Linked DNA regions of Homo sapiens: region 1 is linked to region 2. The links are contacts of gene promoters, found by promoter capture Hi-C in human tissues and cell types (Jung and others, 2019). All regions are on one chromosome and are shown on one strand. The core of a region is centred on a gene start or on the middle of the fragment in contact, and the rest is flanking DNA. Distances in the headings are between cores, read along the strand shown.

Region 1 (5,829 bases), core at 2,272-4,771, 260 kb before region 2:
TACTCGGGAGGCTGAGGCAGGAGAATGGCGTAAAACCTGGGAGGCAGAGGTTGCAGTGAGCCGAGATCGTGCCACTACACTATAGCCTGGGAGACAGAGCGAGACTCCGTCTCAAAAAAAAAAAAAAAAAAGGAGTATCTGGTTGAAGAGACCAGTCATATGAACTCTTTACTCAAGAACTGAAGGCTTATGAGCCAGGTGTAGTGGCACTTTGGGAGGTCAAGGCAAGGAGGATCTCTTGAGGCCAGGAGTTTGAGACCAGCCTGAGCAACATAGCAAGACTTTGTCTCTACAAAAATTTTTAAAAATTAGCTGGGTGTGGTGGTGCACACCTGTAATCCCAGCTACTCAGGAGGCTGAAGTGGGAGGATCACTTGAGCCTGGGATTTCAAGGCTGCAGTAAGCCATGGTTGTGCCACTGCATTCTAGCTTGAGCAACAGAGTGAGACCCTGTATCTTTAAAAAAAAAAAAAAGACTTTCAGGCCTAACCTTACATTTGAGAAACTGTAGATTATTGTTTCTGGTAATTGGTGTCATGGACCCTGATTTCTTGGTTTTATTTTATTCATACAGGATTAATGCAGTATCGAATGGACAAGTCCGAGGTGATAGTTACAGTGAAGGTTGTCTGGGTCAAACAGGTAAATAGGTGCAAACAGCATCTTATTATACATGCTTAAATCCTTAAGATGAGTATTTCACATGGAAATACCACTTTTCTATTTGTTTTAATATATCTGTGAGTAACAGCTTATTATTTTGAATCTATTGTTTTATGTTTTGGGCTTGAAATTGGGAATTAATATATAACATTCTATTTGCCGTGCTTTATTGAGTGTAGGCAGTGTTTTTATTAAAATGTATTTATGCAAATTAAAGAGGCCCTATCAGAATTCATTTTAGGCAGTCATGACTCCATTTATTTATAGCAAATCTTCATAAACATGTTAATGTGATTTGAAAGTTGCCTGTCCTCCTCTGTTAACATAATTTTAATGCAACCTTCCTAAGTTCTAGTCACAGTAAATTTGAATTTATTTTGCTGCCTAACTTCCCTGAAAGTGAAATATGGTAGCTTGGAGATTCGTATGTCACTGAATATGAATTTTTTACTGTATGTCTGTGTTACTGTTTGAAAGTACTCTTGGAAGATCTGGGAGCGGCCGGGCACAGTGGCTCACGGCTGTAATCCCAGCACTTTGAGAGGCCAAGGCAGGCAGATCACAAGGTCAGGAGATCGAGATCATCCTGGCTAACACAGTGAAACCCCGTCTCTACTAAAAATACAAAAAATCAGCTGGGCGTGGTGGCGGGTGCCTGTAGTCCCAGCTACTCTGGAGGCTGAGGCAGGGGAATGGCATGAACCTGGGCGGGTGGAGCTTGCAGTGAGCCGAGATTGCGCCACTGCACTCCAGCCTAGGAGACAGAGCAAGACTCTGCCTCAAAAAAAAAAAAAAAAAAAATGTGGGATCATTGTCTATATAAAAGCATAAGGAGAATGAGCCTCTAAATATGGTGAAACAGATTTTATGAGATGTTTTATAGGAAGGTTGAGTATAGGTTTTCTCAGTGTAGGCAGTTGGGGAAAGTAAGTATATGCACTTATACAGACTCATAAATAATTTTTAAAAATCTATACAGACCAACCAAGAAGAAAAAGGCCAACAGGTACACTGATGAAGATGTTTAACACATCCTTTACTGTTCTCACGTTAGACTTTAATGGCAGTTGCACTTTTTTTTTTTCTGTTTGGGTTTTATTTTCTTTTTGAAAGTTAATTGTACTGCCCTATAAGAAAGAATTCTGGTAAAATATTATTTCTTTGAAGGTGCTCGCATTTGGCTTTTCGTTGGTTTCATGTTGGCCTTTGGATCTCTGATTGCATCTATGTGGATTCTTTTTGGAGGTTATGTTGCTAAAGGTAAGAGAAAACATAGGTTACAATTTACTTCAGTGGAATACTGGAATTTTGCATTAAAGTTGGTTATTTTAGAATAAAATTTTTTTCCTATAGTTGGGCCAACTACTAGCGATGCATTTATATCCGGGACCCCCCACCCTCCACCGACAGTGTTTGGTTTTCTTTGTCTTATATATTTTTAGTATTCCTTTCTTCAGTCATTTTTCTTCTTATCCAGAGCCTGGAAGGGATGAGACAGCTCTAAACACTGCTTTTCTTTGGCTTCCAAAAATCTCAAAAGCAGAACATATGTTATCTAGCTAGTTAGCAAGCTTTGTTTCTTTTTTAGAGACAAGAGTCTCACTATCACCCAGGCTGGAGTGCAATGGCATGATCATGGCCCACTGCAGCCTCAACCTCCTGGGCTCAAGCCATCCTCACACCTCAGCTTCCCAGGTAGCTAGGGCCACAAGCACACACAACCACACCCAGCTAATTTTTAAATTTTTTATAGAGATGGATCTTGCTATGTTGCTAAGGCTGGCCTTGAACTCCTGGCCTCAAGCCTGGCCTAACAAGTTCTGACTTTCAGAATATCTGTGCAAAGCTCTAACATCCCAGAATTGAGATTTATTCAGTTAAGCCTCCCTGGTAATATGATGTCACCTCCTTTCAGACAGAAAAGTAAACTAACATTTAATATACATCTGCTATATAAGGCCACTTTAAGGCAAGCTCAGGAAAAGGTATACTGTTAGACCCTGGGAGAAATTTCACCTTGAGGGACCCTAGAAAAACAGAAAACCCATTTAATGGTCCAGGTAAAATTGCTATGGGTGTCATAGTAAAAATACAGTATTAATGATTTATAAAAACTGGACCAGGTTATATATATTCTGCTCATATTTTAACACTTATTTGAATAAAATGTAACTTGTAGATTAAAATAATGTTTCCTAAATTTTTATTAAAATCATTTAATCTCATAGATGGGAGTAATAGATATTTCCAAATATTTGTATTTTTAATTTTATTTTAATTATTTTTTTTATTTTTTGAGACAGGGTCTGCTCTGTCACCCAGGCTGGAATGCAGTGGCACAATCTCAGCTTACTGCAACCTCCACCTCCCAGGCTCAAGCAATCCTCCCACTCAGCCTCCTGAGTAGCTGAGATGACGGGCGCATGCCACCACGCCCTGCTAGTTTTGTATTTTTTGTAGAGATGGGGCTTCACCATGTTGCCCAGGCTGGTCTCAAACTCCTGGGCTCAAGTGATCTGCCTGCCTCAGCTTCCCAAAGTGCTGGGATTACAGGTGTGAACCACTAGGCCTAGCCATGTGTAATTTATTATTAAAATCATGTTACCAAAATTGTAGAAAATAAAAAAGGGTGGGTGCAGTGTAATCCCAGCACTTCAGGAGGCCAAGGAGGGAGTACTGCATGAGGCCAGGATTTTGAGACCAGCTTGGACAACATAGGGAGACACCATCTCTACAAATAATAAATATTTAGCCGACTATGGTGACGTGCATGTGTGGTCCCAGCTACTCGGGAGACTGACGTGAGAGGATCACCTGAGCCCGGGAGGCAGAGATTGCAGTGAGCTGTGATTGTGCCACTGTACTCCAGCCTGGGTGACAAAGTGAGACGCTGTCTCAAAAAAAGAGAAAAGAAAAGAAAAAAAGAAAAAGAAGTAATAATAATTTCACCACTCTTCAATATTTTGGTTTATTTCCTTTTTTCTTATGTTTTTAGTTATTATCATAATTTTTATCCCCCGTTTGCATTTCACATGATATTATAAGTTAGTTGTTCTTTTGCTGCTATAAAATCTGTTTTTTATATGTATATTTGTTGCCCAGGCTGGAGTGCAGTGATGCGATCTCAGCTCACTGCAACCTCCGTCTCCCAGGTTCAAGCAATTCTTCTGCCTCAGCCTCCCAAGTAGCTGGGATTACAGGCGCCTGCCGCCATGTCCAGCTAATTTTTGTATTTTTAGTAGAGACAGGGTTCTGCCATGTTGGCCAGGCTGGTCTTGAACTCCTGACTTCAGGTGATCCACCTGCCTTGGCTTCCCAAAGTGCTGGGATTACAGGAGTGAGCCACCACGCCCAGCCATCTATATATTTTAAAATGTATATATTTTGAGTTTGAGACCAGTCTGGCTAACATGGCAAAACCCCATCTCTACTAGAAATACAAAAATTAGCCAGGCATGGTGGCACACACCTCCAATCCCAGCTACTTGGGAGGCTGAGGCACGAGATCTCTTGAACCTGGGAGGTGGAGGTTGCAGTGAGCTGCGATCACGCCACTGCACTGCAGCCTGGGTAACAGTGGGAGACCCTCTCAAAAATCAAAACAAAAAAAAAGGAAAAAAATTACCTTGTTATCATGGGAATTGCATAATGCTTATTCATTATAGAAAACTAAGAATATAAAAGAACTCAAAAGAAGAAAATGAAATTACTGATAATTCTTTCCCAGATACAACTATTAATACAGGGTCCCTTTTTATAGGAATGTCTTTATCTCATAATTTTAGGCTATTTTCCTGAAAGCTTCTGGAGCAAGGTTATGTTTTGAGAATTATTAGCAGCAGATCTGTAATTTTATAAAGTTGGCTTTATAACATTTTTAGAAGCCATTCTAGTGGTAATGGTTATTTAACGTGAAATAGTGGTGAAGACCTATGCAAACCATCTGTTATGTTAATCAGATTAACCAAAGCTGTTCTGAAATGAGAAAAATTTGACAGTTCACCTATTTATTGTGCCTCTGTCAATGAGCAGTCATTAACAATTCCAGTAGTAGAAATTTATGAGAATTTCAACTTCACTTCTAGATACAATCAGAAAAAAATGTTGCTCCAGCAGTCCTTCCAATCTTAGTTAATGGCTGGCTACTCTATCTTTCCAGGTGTTTAGGCCAAAAGCCCTAGATGGTGAAGGCCTGTCAAAGATGACATTTGTCTTCCTCCCACGCCCCATATCCAATCTATCTGCAGATCATGTTGACTGTGCTGTAAAATATATCCTGAGTCTAACCACCATTTACCATCTCTCCATTGCTACCACCCTGGTTCAATCCATCATAATCTCTCACCTGATTTCCTGGAAGAGCCTCCTAACTGGTTTCTGTTTCCTCTCTTGCCTCCTTTAATCTACCCTCAGCACAGCAGCCAGAGGGATCCTCTTAAAATATGTCATCTCAGATCACTTTTCTGCTCACAACCCAGTGGCTTCTCGTCTCACTCAGAGTAAAAATCAGAGTCCTCACTGTGACTGCCAGGTCTCTGCTGCCCAGTTGCCCTCTTTCTTTACCCTGTCCCTGCTCTTCCCTCTTGTGCCTACGTGGCTGTTCCTGTAATTCACTGGCGTGCTCCCTCAGGGCGTGTGCATGGCTTCTTCCCCACTTCCTGCGTGTCCTTACTCCAGTGTCACCTTCTCATGGGGTCTTCCTGGCCATCTGTGTCCAATGTCACACTACACTTCTCCACCTTTCCTGCATTATTTTATCTTCTTTTTATTCAGTATATTCTCTAGTTCCATGAGGGCAAAAAAAATTTTACCTGTTTTGTTTATTGCAGTATCCTCAGTATTAAATAGGGCCAGCATACAGTATGCCCCCAGTAAATATTTGTTAAGTGAACTAAGGGAGCTATCATTTACTAAAGCCATGCTAGACTCTGTTACACATTATGTCTTTTAATACTCAAGCCAACCCTAATTCTAAGAAAAATCAATTCTTCTAGGCAGGAAAACTGGTATTTGCCAATATATCTGAAACTAAATGTTTTGAGATCATAACCCTCTAAACACTGCAATTATTTTTACAGAAAAAGACATAGTATACCCTGGAATTGCTGTATTTTTCCAGAATGCCTTCATCTTTTTTGGGTAAGTTTGTTTTGCATTCTTTATGTT
Region 2 (5,905 bases), core at 786-3,285:
CAGTCCTGCTGCAGCCCCACTTTCCACCCTGGCTCACAGAGCACACCAGAGTTTGGTCAGAGTGTCACATCACAGTGAGCATCTAGTTCAAACAGACATTTCCTTCTGAGATTCAGCTCTGCTCTTCTCCCTTTCTGGATCCTACCTTCACAGGGGACTGAACAGTGATTCCCCTACACTCTCAATGAGGAACAACACAGATGATGACTCTAATGAATGCTGGGTCCCTGCCTGGTTCTCCAAAGACAAGGTTGCCCTTTCCTGCAGTGGGACCCAGTGAGGCGATGCTTGGGTGTTGGAGACATGGGTGAGGCCAGGCCAGGTCTCTGGGCTCCTGCACCCAAATGGGTCACATGCTTATCTCTGATTTGCACAGCTGGCTCCACATCAACCTGCCAACGAAACTCACAAGAGATTGAAATATCTGAATTAGAATTTTATATTTAAGCTGCATATATTTGTGGGATTGGGAAGGATTAGTCATCTCCAGTGACCAAAATGTTTGCACCTGTTACCCACTTTCATTTTCAGTTGAGAGAAAGTTGCATGCCAGGGATATTTAAACATCGAGGGTGGGTCTGCTGTCAGTGGTCTGGCCAGAGGTAGAAGGATGACTGAGTCCCAGCCGCCCATCCCCAGCAGGCCTCAGGGAAGAAGCAAGATTTACGAGGCGAGAGCCTGCCTGGCCCGCTTCTTCTGTCGGGAAAGGCTTCCCTGCAGTATTTTCTGTCTCGTCAACACTGCATTTCATTTTAAATTGCAGCTGAAAGTAGATATTTTCCCTCTTGCCTATTACAAACCTCTTAATTTGTCTCTCCCTCTGCTGTTATTTGTCTCTATAAAGTGTTTTGCATGAAAGACCCACACAGCACAATGTTGCTTCACCCTGGGTTAGGTTTAACAGGAAGGGAAGATGCAGAGACTAAGTCCAAGGAGGAAGATGTGAGGGCCTTGGGGTTGAGGACACGCGTGTCTGGGAGTTGATGCCTGGCTGTTTTTGGAGGTTATCTGTTGCCTGAGTGTCTGTGGGTATGCGGGTGCACATGTCCATGTTTGTACTAATTTACATATATGTCTATGCATACTGTGGTATAATCACTTGGGTGTCCATACCCAAATTAAGTGTATGTTTGAGTGCATGTACACACCCACATGCCAGTCTCTGTGTGCATATAGATCTATGCCCAGACGCACACATGTGCATATAAACACACGTAGGCATCAAGGTAGACGTCCGTCACATTATGTGTGTGGTCTTCTGTAGACACGCCCGGGGCTCTCTTCCTTTCGCTGCTTCTCAAGGCTGCGGTCAGCCTCCCTCCGTGCTCCACCCAGGAGCCCTGGCCCCGTTTAGGGTTGTGGGAAAAGGAAGGCACGCCAGTGGTCTGCGAGGGGGCCAGTGGAAACATCACCTCCGCCGACCCGGCCGCGGTCACAGCTCTCTGGCTTGGCTCCAGCCACCAGCAGCACCCCTGCAGCCCGGCGTTAGCGCTGAGAAGCCCGGGGCAGCCGCCAGGGCGCGGGCTGCCAGCTCCCTGACAACCCCGGGCTGGCACTCGGGGGCGAGAGAGGTCACCCAGCGACGGGCACACCCCTCCAGAGCAACACCGTCTCCGGCCCGCTTCCGGGGGCCACCAACCCGAGCCTCGCGGGCGGGCTGGGGGGTGGTCTCTGTCGCTTGGGGTCCAGCGAAGGCTGGGCAGTAACCAATGGACGACTGTGGCCCAACGGGGATCCCTCGGATGCAGCCAATGCCCTCGTTGCGCTCTCCGCCCCCGCCCTCGCCTGCCCCGCGCCGCTGGACCATTGGCGCCCGCTGGATGGGGGGTGCGCGCGACGCCTGCCCTTCGGGGAGGGCGGGGCTTGGAGCGGGCTGCGCTCCCGCCCGCGCTCGGCCTCTGCCCCGCCCCCGGACGCGCGGCCCTCAGCCGGCTGCGGCGCGGCGGCGGCGGGAGGGGGCGCGGGGCGCGCGCGTGGGCGTGGCCGGCGGGCGTGGCCGGCGGGCGGCAGGAGGCGGGGCGGCGGGCGCTGTCGCAGTGAAAGCCCGAGCGGCGGCGGCGGCGGGGACGGCGGTGGAGGCGGCCGGGTGGCTGTGCGCGCGTGTGGGGCGCAGGCTCGGCGGCAGCGGCCGGTCTGGAGCGGCCGCTGCGAGGAAGACAGCTGCAGCGGGGGAGGCGCGGCCAGGGCTGCGCGCTCCGCGGAGCCGGCGGGGCCGGGAACAGGTGATCCCAGTGGGAGCCCCGCGCCCTGCCGAGTTCGAGGGGCGGGAGCCCGCGCTCCCGGGCGCATCTGCAGCCGCCCAGCCGCGGCTCCGGACCCAGGCATCCCTGCGCTGTCTGGGGCCCGGGGGAAGCCCCCTGCCCCCGCAGGCTCGGAAGTGCCTGCTCCTGCTCCCTGGCCACTCCGGCTCCCAGCTCCCGGCGCCCTCTCCGCGGCGGAGAAAGTTGTGGACGTGTCCCGATAGTCGAGCCCGGGCGCTGTCGCGACCGGGCCGGGTGTGCGCGCGCTCGGGGCGGCGCTGACACGCCAGCCCCCCATCGCCTCGGTCCCCTCCGGAAACTGCTTCTGAAGCTGAAACTTTGGGCGCCTACCAGCGCGGGCGGGAGCCTAGGGGGCGGAGGGCGGCTTGGTGCGGGCCTGCGGGCGCCCCTCGGCGCGGACAGCCGGGACGCCGCGGACGGCATGTGACGGTCCCGGCGGCCGCAGCGCGGGAAGGCGCGGGCCCCGGCGCGGCGGGGAGGGCTCGGCCGGAGGGGAGGCTGCGGCGCGCGGCCGGTCGCTGCGGGCCCGGGCCCCAAGCCGTGCCGCTCCGCTCGCCCGGGCCCCGCCGAGGCCGCTGCGCCCCCGCCTCCTCGCGGGAGGACTCGCTCCAAACTCCCTGAACTTCGGGGACAGTCCCCCGAAGCGGCGAAACTCTCAGGGTTGGCAACCCTGCCCAGGGACCCCCATCCCGGGCGGCGCTCCGGACGCCCTCCCCTCACCGCGCCCCCGCAGACACGTGCCTGGACTCCGAGGGCTTCTGGAGCCACCGGCCGGGCCACGATGCTCATGAGGAAAGTGCCCGGCTTCGTCCCGGCCTCCCCGTGGGGGCTGCGGCTGCCGCAGAAGTTCCTCTTCCTCCTCTTCCTCTCGGGCCTGGTCACCCTGTGCTTCGGGGCCCTCTTCCTGCTGCCCCACTCCTCTCGCCTCAAGCGCCTCTTCCTGGCCCCCCGGACCCAGCAGCCTGGTCTGGAAGTGGTGGCTGAAATCGCCGGCCATGCCCCGGCCCGCGAGCAGGAGCCGCCTCCCAACCCGGCCCCCGCCGCGCCGGCCCCGGGCGAGGATGACCCCAGCAGCTGGGCCAGTCCCCGCCGCAGGAAAGGGGGGCTGCGGCGCACCCGCCCCACTGGACCCCGCGAGGAGGCCACGGCGGCCCGGGGCAATAGCATCCCGGCCTCCAGGCCCGGGGACGAGGGCGTCCCTTTCCGCTTTGACTTCAACGCATTCCGGAGCCGTCTCCGCCACCCGGTCCTGGGAACGAGGGCCGATGAGAGTCAGGAGCCCCAGAGCCAAGTGCGAGCCCAGCGGGAGAAAATCAAGGAGGTATGGACTCAGCCCCCAAACTCCTCCCACCAACTGCCCCCTCTAAGGAGAGAAGACCCTCTGGCGCTCCCACCCCTTTCCCTTGCCTCAGTCACTCCTGGTCCCAGGTCTACTTCTGGCCCTGCAGACTGCACTTTGCACCTTCCCCTTTCCTCCCAAATGTCCCACCTTCTTTCCTCCCTACACAGTTTCCCACCACTCGGGTCAGTTAATCGTCCCCACCGTGACAGATGGCAGCTGAACCCCTAGACCAACTGCCCCCTCACTCCCAGACTCTGGTATGTCGTATCCAACCCCCAGGCCCAGTGAGCTCCACTCCTTCCCTTTGTGGAGTTGCTAATGAGAGTGGAGTTCAGGTTCCTTAGTGCACCCTCTTTTTGCATTTGTGGACACAGAGCCACTGGTCCCATTCTTTTTCACTGTGTGACCTTAAGTCCAAAACCCCTATAGGACCTGCTTACCTAAAAACCCAGGATTTAAGGGGGTATTTGGTGTCCTGCAAATATTTTGTAATCTAGTAAGCAACCTACAAACCAGAGGATGTTGTGCATTCTGTTTCTATTGAGCTTATTGAGCTTCAGAACAATTGTACACAATTGTACATAATTGCATATGATGCAGGAAGAGATGATAAAGCAGTGGTCATATTACAGAAGCTCCGAGGTTATTGGCATAATGAAGCAGATCTTGAGCTGGTTCCCTGTAGGGATTGTACCAGGAGGGATTTAGAAGGATCACTTTAAGTCTGAGTCTTAGTTTAAGAAATCAAAAGCAAACACAGCCTCACAAGGCTTGAAGACAGTTGCCAGCTTGCCACTGCCACTAAATATTCTGCTGGACCACTGTTAGAACTGCCTGCGTGCGGATGGTGCCCAGCAATGCAGAGGGGGCTGCAGTGACACCCCCAGGCCACGAGGGGGCCGTGGGCAAGCTGTGGGCCAGGGTCTCCTCCCTAGAAACGAGAGGATGCTCTCCCCTCCCCATGGACTCAAAGGAAAGAAAGGGCTGCTTCTGCCTGGACTTCTTGATTTGCTGCGAAGAAGTCAGCAGTTCGACCCTGATTTCCAGGAAGAGCAGGCAGCAAGGATCAGGACCTGCCCTGTCAAGACCTGCTCAGAGCCGATGGAGGGCTTAGCCAGATTATCCCCTTCTCCTTGTCTGAACCATCCTCCCTTCCAGCGCCCACCTCTCTTCCACTTCTTATCTTTTCTGTTACTCTGTTTGGAGACTTAACTAGCAATCACAGGACATTTTGTGAAGTTACAGTAGGAAGCCACAGGGAAACTGAGTGCTTGGTGTGTATGTGTGTGTGCATGTTTGTGTGCTCTCAGTTTCCAGATTCCTGTTGAAATCTCAGGTTGAGTGACAGCTGGAACTTGCAGTAGCTAAGTAAGGGGCATTCATTTCTCCCTTTCTTGTTAAGGAACTACGCTGTTGAATACTCACTTGGACCACCCATAGCTCTTTCTCAAAGCTGCTTCTGAGCACAGTGGCTCTTTTTGCCCCTCTCGACCTCCCAGTAGGGCAGTGACCCCCAGTGAAATTACATATAAATTGCATGCATGCAGTTTTTCATGGGGCATCCAGAGGTGCCATCAGATTTTCAAACTGATCCCCCAAAGGATTAAGAATTAACTATCATCTTCCTCAGAAGAGATACTCTCTGTGTTTGCATTTAGATGGTGGTCCATTTCCGAATGCCAGGGGCTGGAGAGTCATGGCAGGAAGGAAGGGCTGGCTAGTAGGGAACTTGATTCTCCCTCTCTGTGTAAGACAATTTATTTTGCCAGCAGAGTCTGGGATGATGCTTGCTGGAGTGGCTGGAGGGTGGGAAGAGGGGTGAGGATTCTGTGCTTTGCAGGTGGGTATAAAATAACATGATGGGAGAAGGTCTAAGTTGGTGACCAGATGTCTGGATCTTTCTAGCTGGTATCTCCTTGCACCCCTGGTACTAGCTGGAGGCATGCTGCATATACTTGGAGTTGGTGTTCAGCTAGCCCTCTCTTACTAATCTTGAAGAAGAGAGGGCTGGTTTCTGTTGTTTTGAAACCTATTGTCTCTTCAGGCTTCCTGCCACTGACCACGCTCTCACGACAACCTGAAAGATGTAGAGTGGGTTTTGGTTTAGTTGTTAACAGTTACCATTCCTGCTGTCCCACCCCAGGAAGAACGCATATGATGGTTGCTGGAGAATGTCTTTATTTCCTTCACATTTAAATTCTATCTGCGTCATGCCCAGGGGTAGATCATTTTAGAAAGGTGCCTGTTTTCACAAAAGGGACTGTTGCTTTCCTCCCTGGTTTGTTTATTTCCAGACATGGAT

Evidence for each region. The method cuts DNA at HindIII sites, captures the fragments that hold promoters and counts their contacts. A contact is called where the count stands out against the background at its distance.
Region 1: a fragment that was not itself captured here is called in contact with the fragment with the promoter of MAN1C1 in region 2 in 1 of the 25 tissues and cell types used here (lymphoblastoid cells).

What each region holds. Positions count from the first base shown.
Region 1 is chr1:25,351,052-25,356,880 of GRCh38, forward strand. TMEM50A (transmembrane protein 50A) reads left to right here. Exons shown (of 7, transcript NM_014313.4): 4 at 575-642; 5 at 1,831-1,923; 6 at 5,742-5,802. Among named protein-coding and RNA genes, the nearest start is that of TMEM50A, 16 kb to the left of the region's middle. The HindIII fragment of the contact is 5,999 bases long and covers 523-5,829 here.
Region 2 is chr1:25,614,756-25,620,660 of GRCh38, forward strand. MAN1C1 (mannosidase alpha class 1C member 1) reads left to right here and starts at 2,036. Exons shown (of 12, transcript NM_020379.4): 1 at 2,036-3,582. The coding sequence starts at 3,043. RefSeq lists enhancers at 1,302-1,471, 5,678-5,727 and silencers at 1,662-1,951, 1,972-2,261. The HindIII fragment of the contact is 13,132 bases long and covers 1-5,905 here.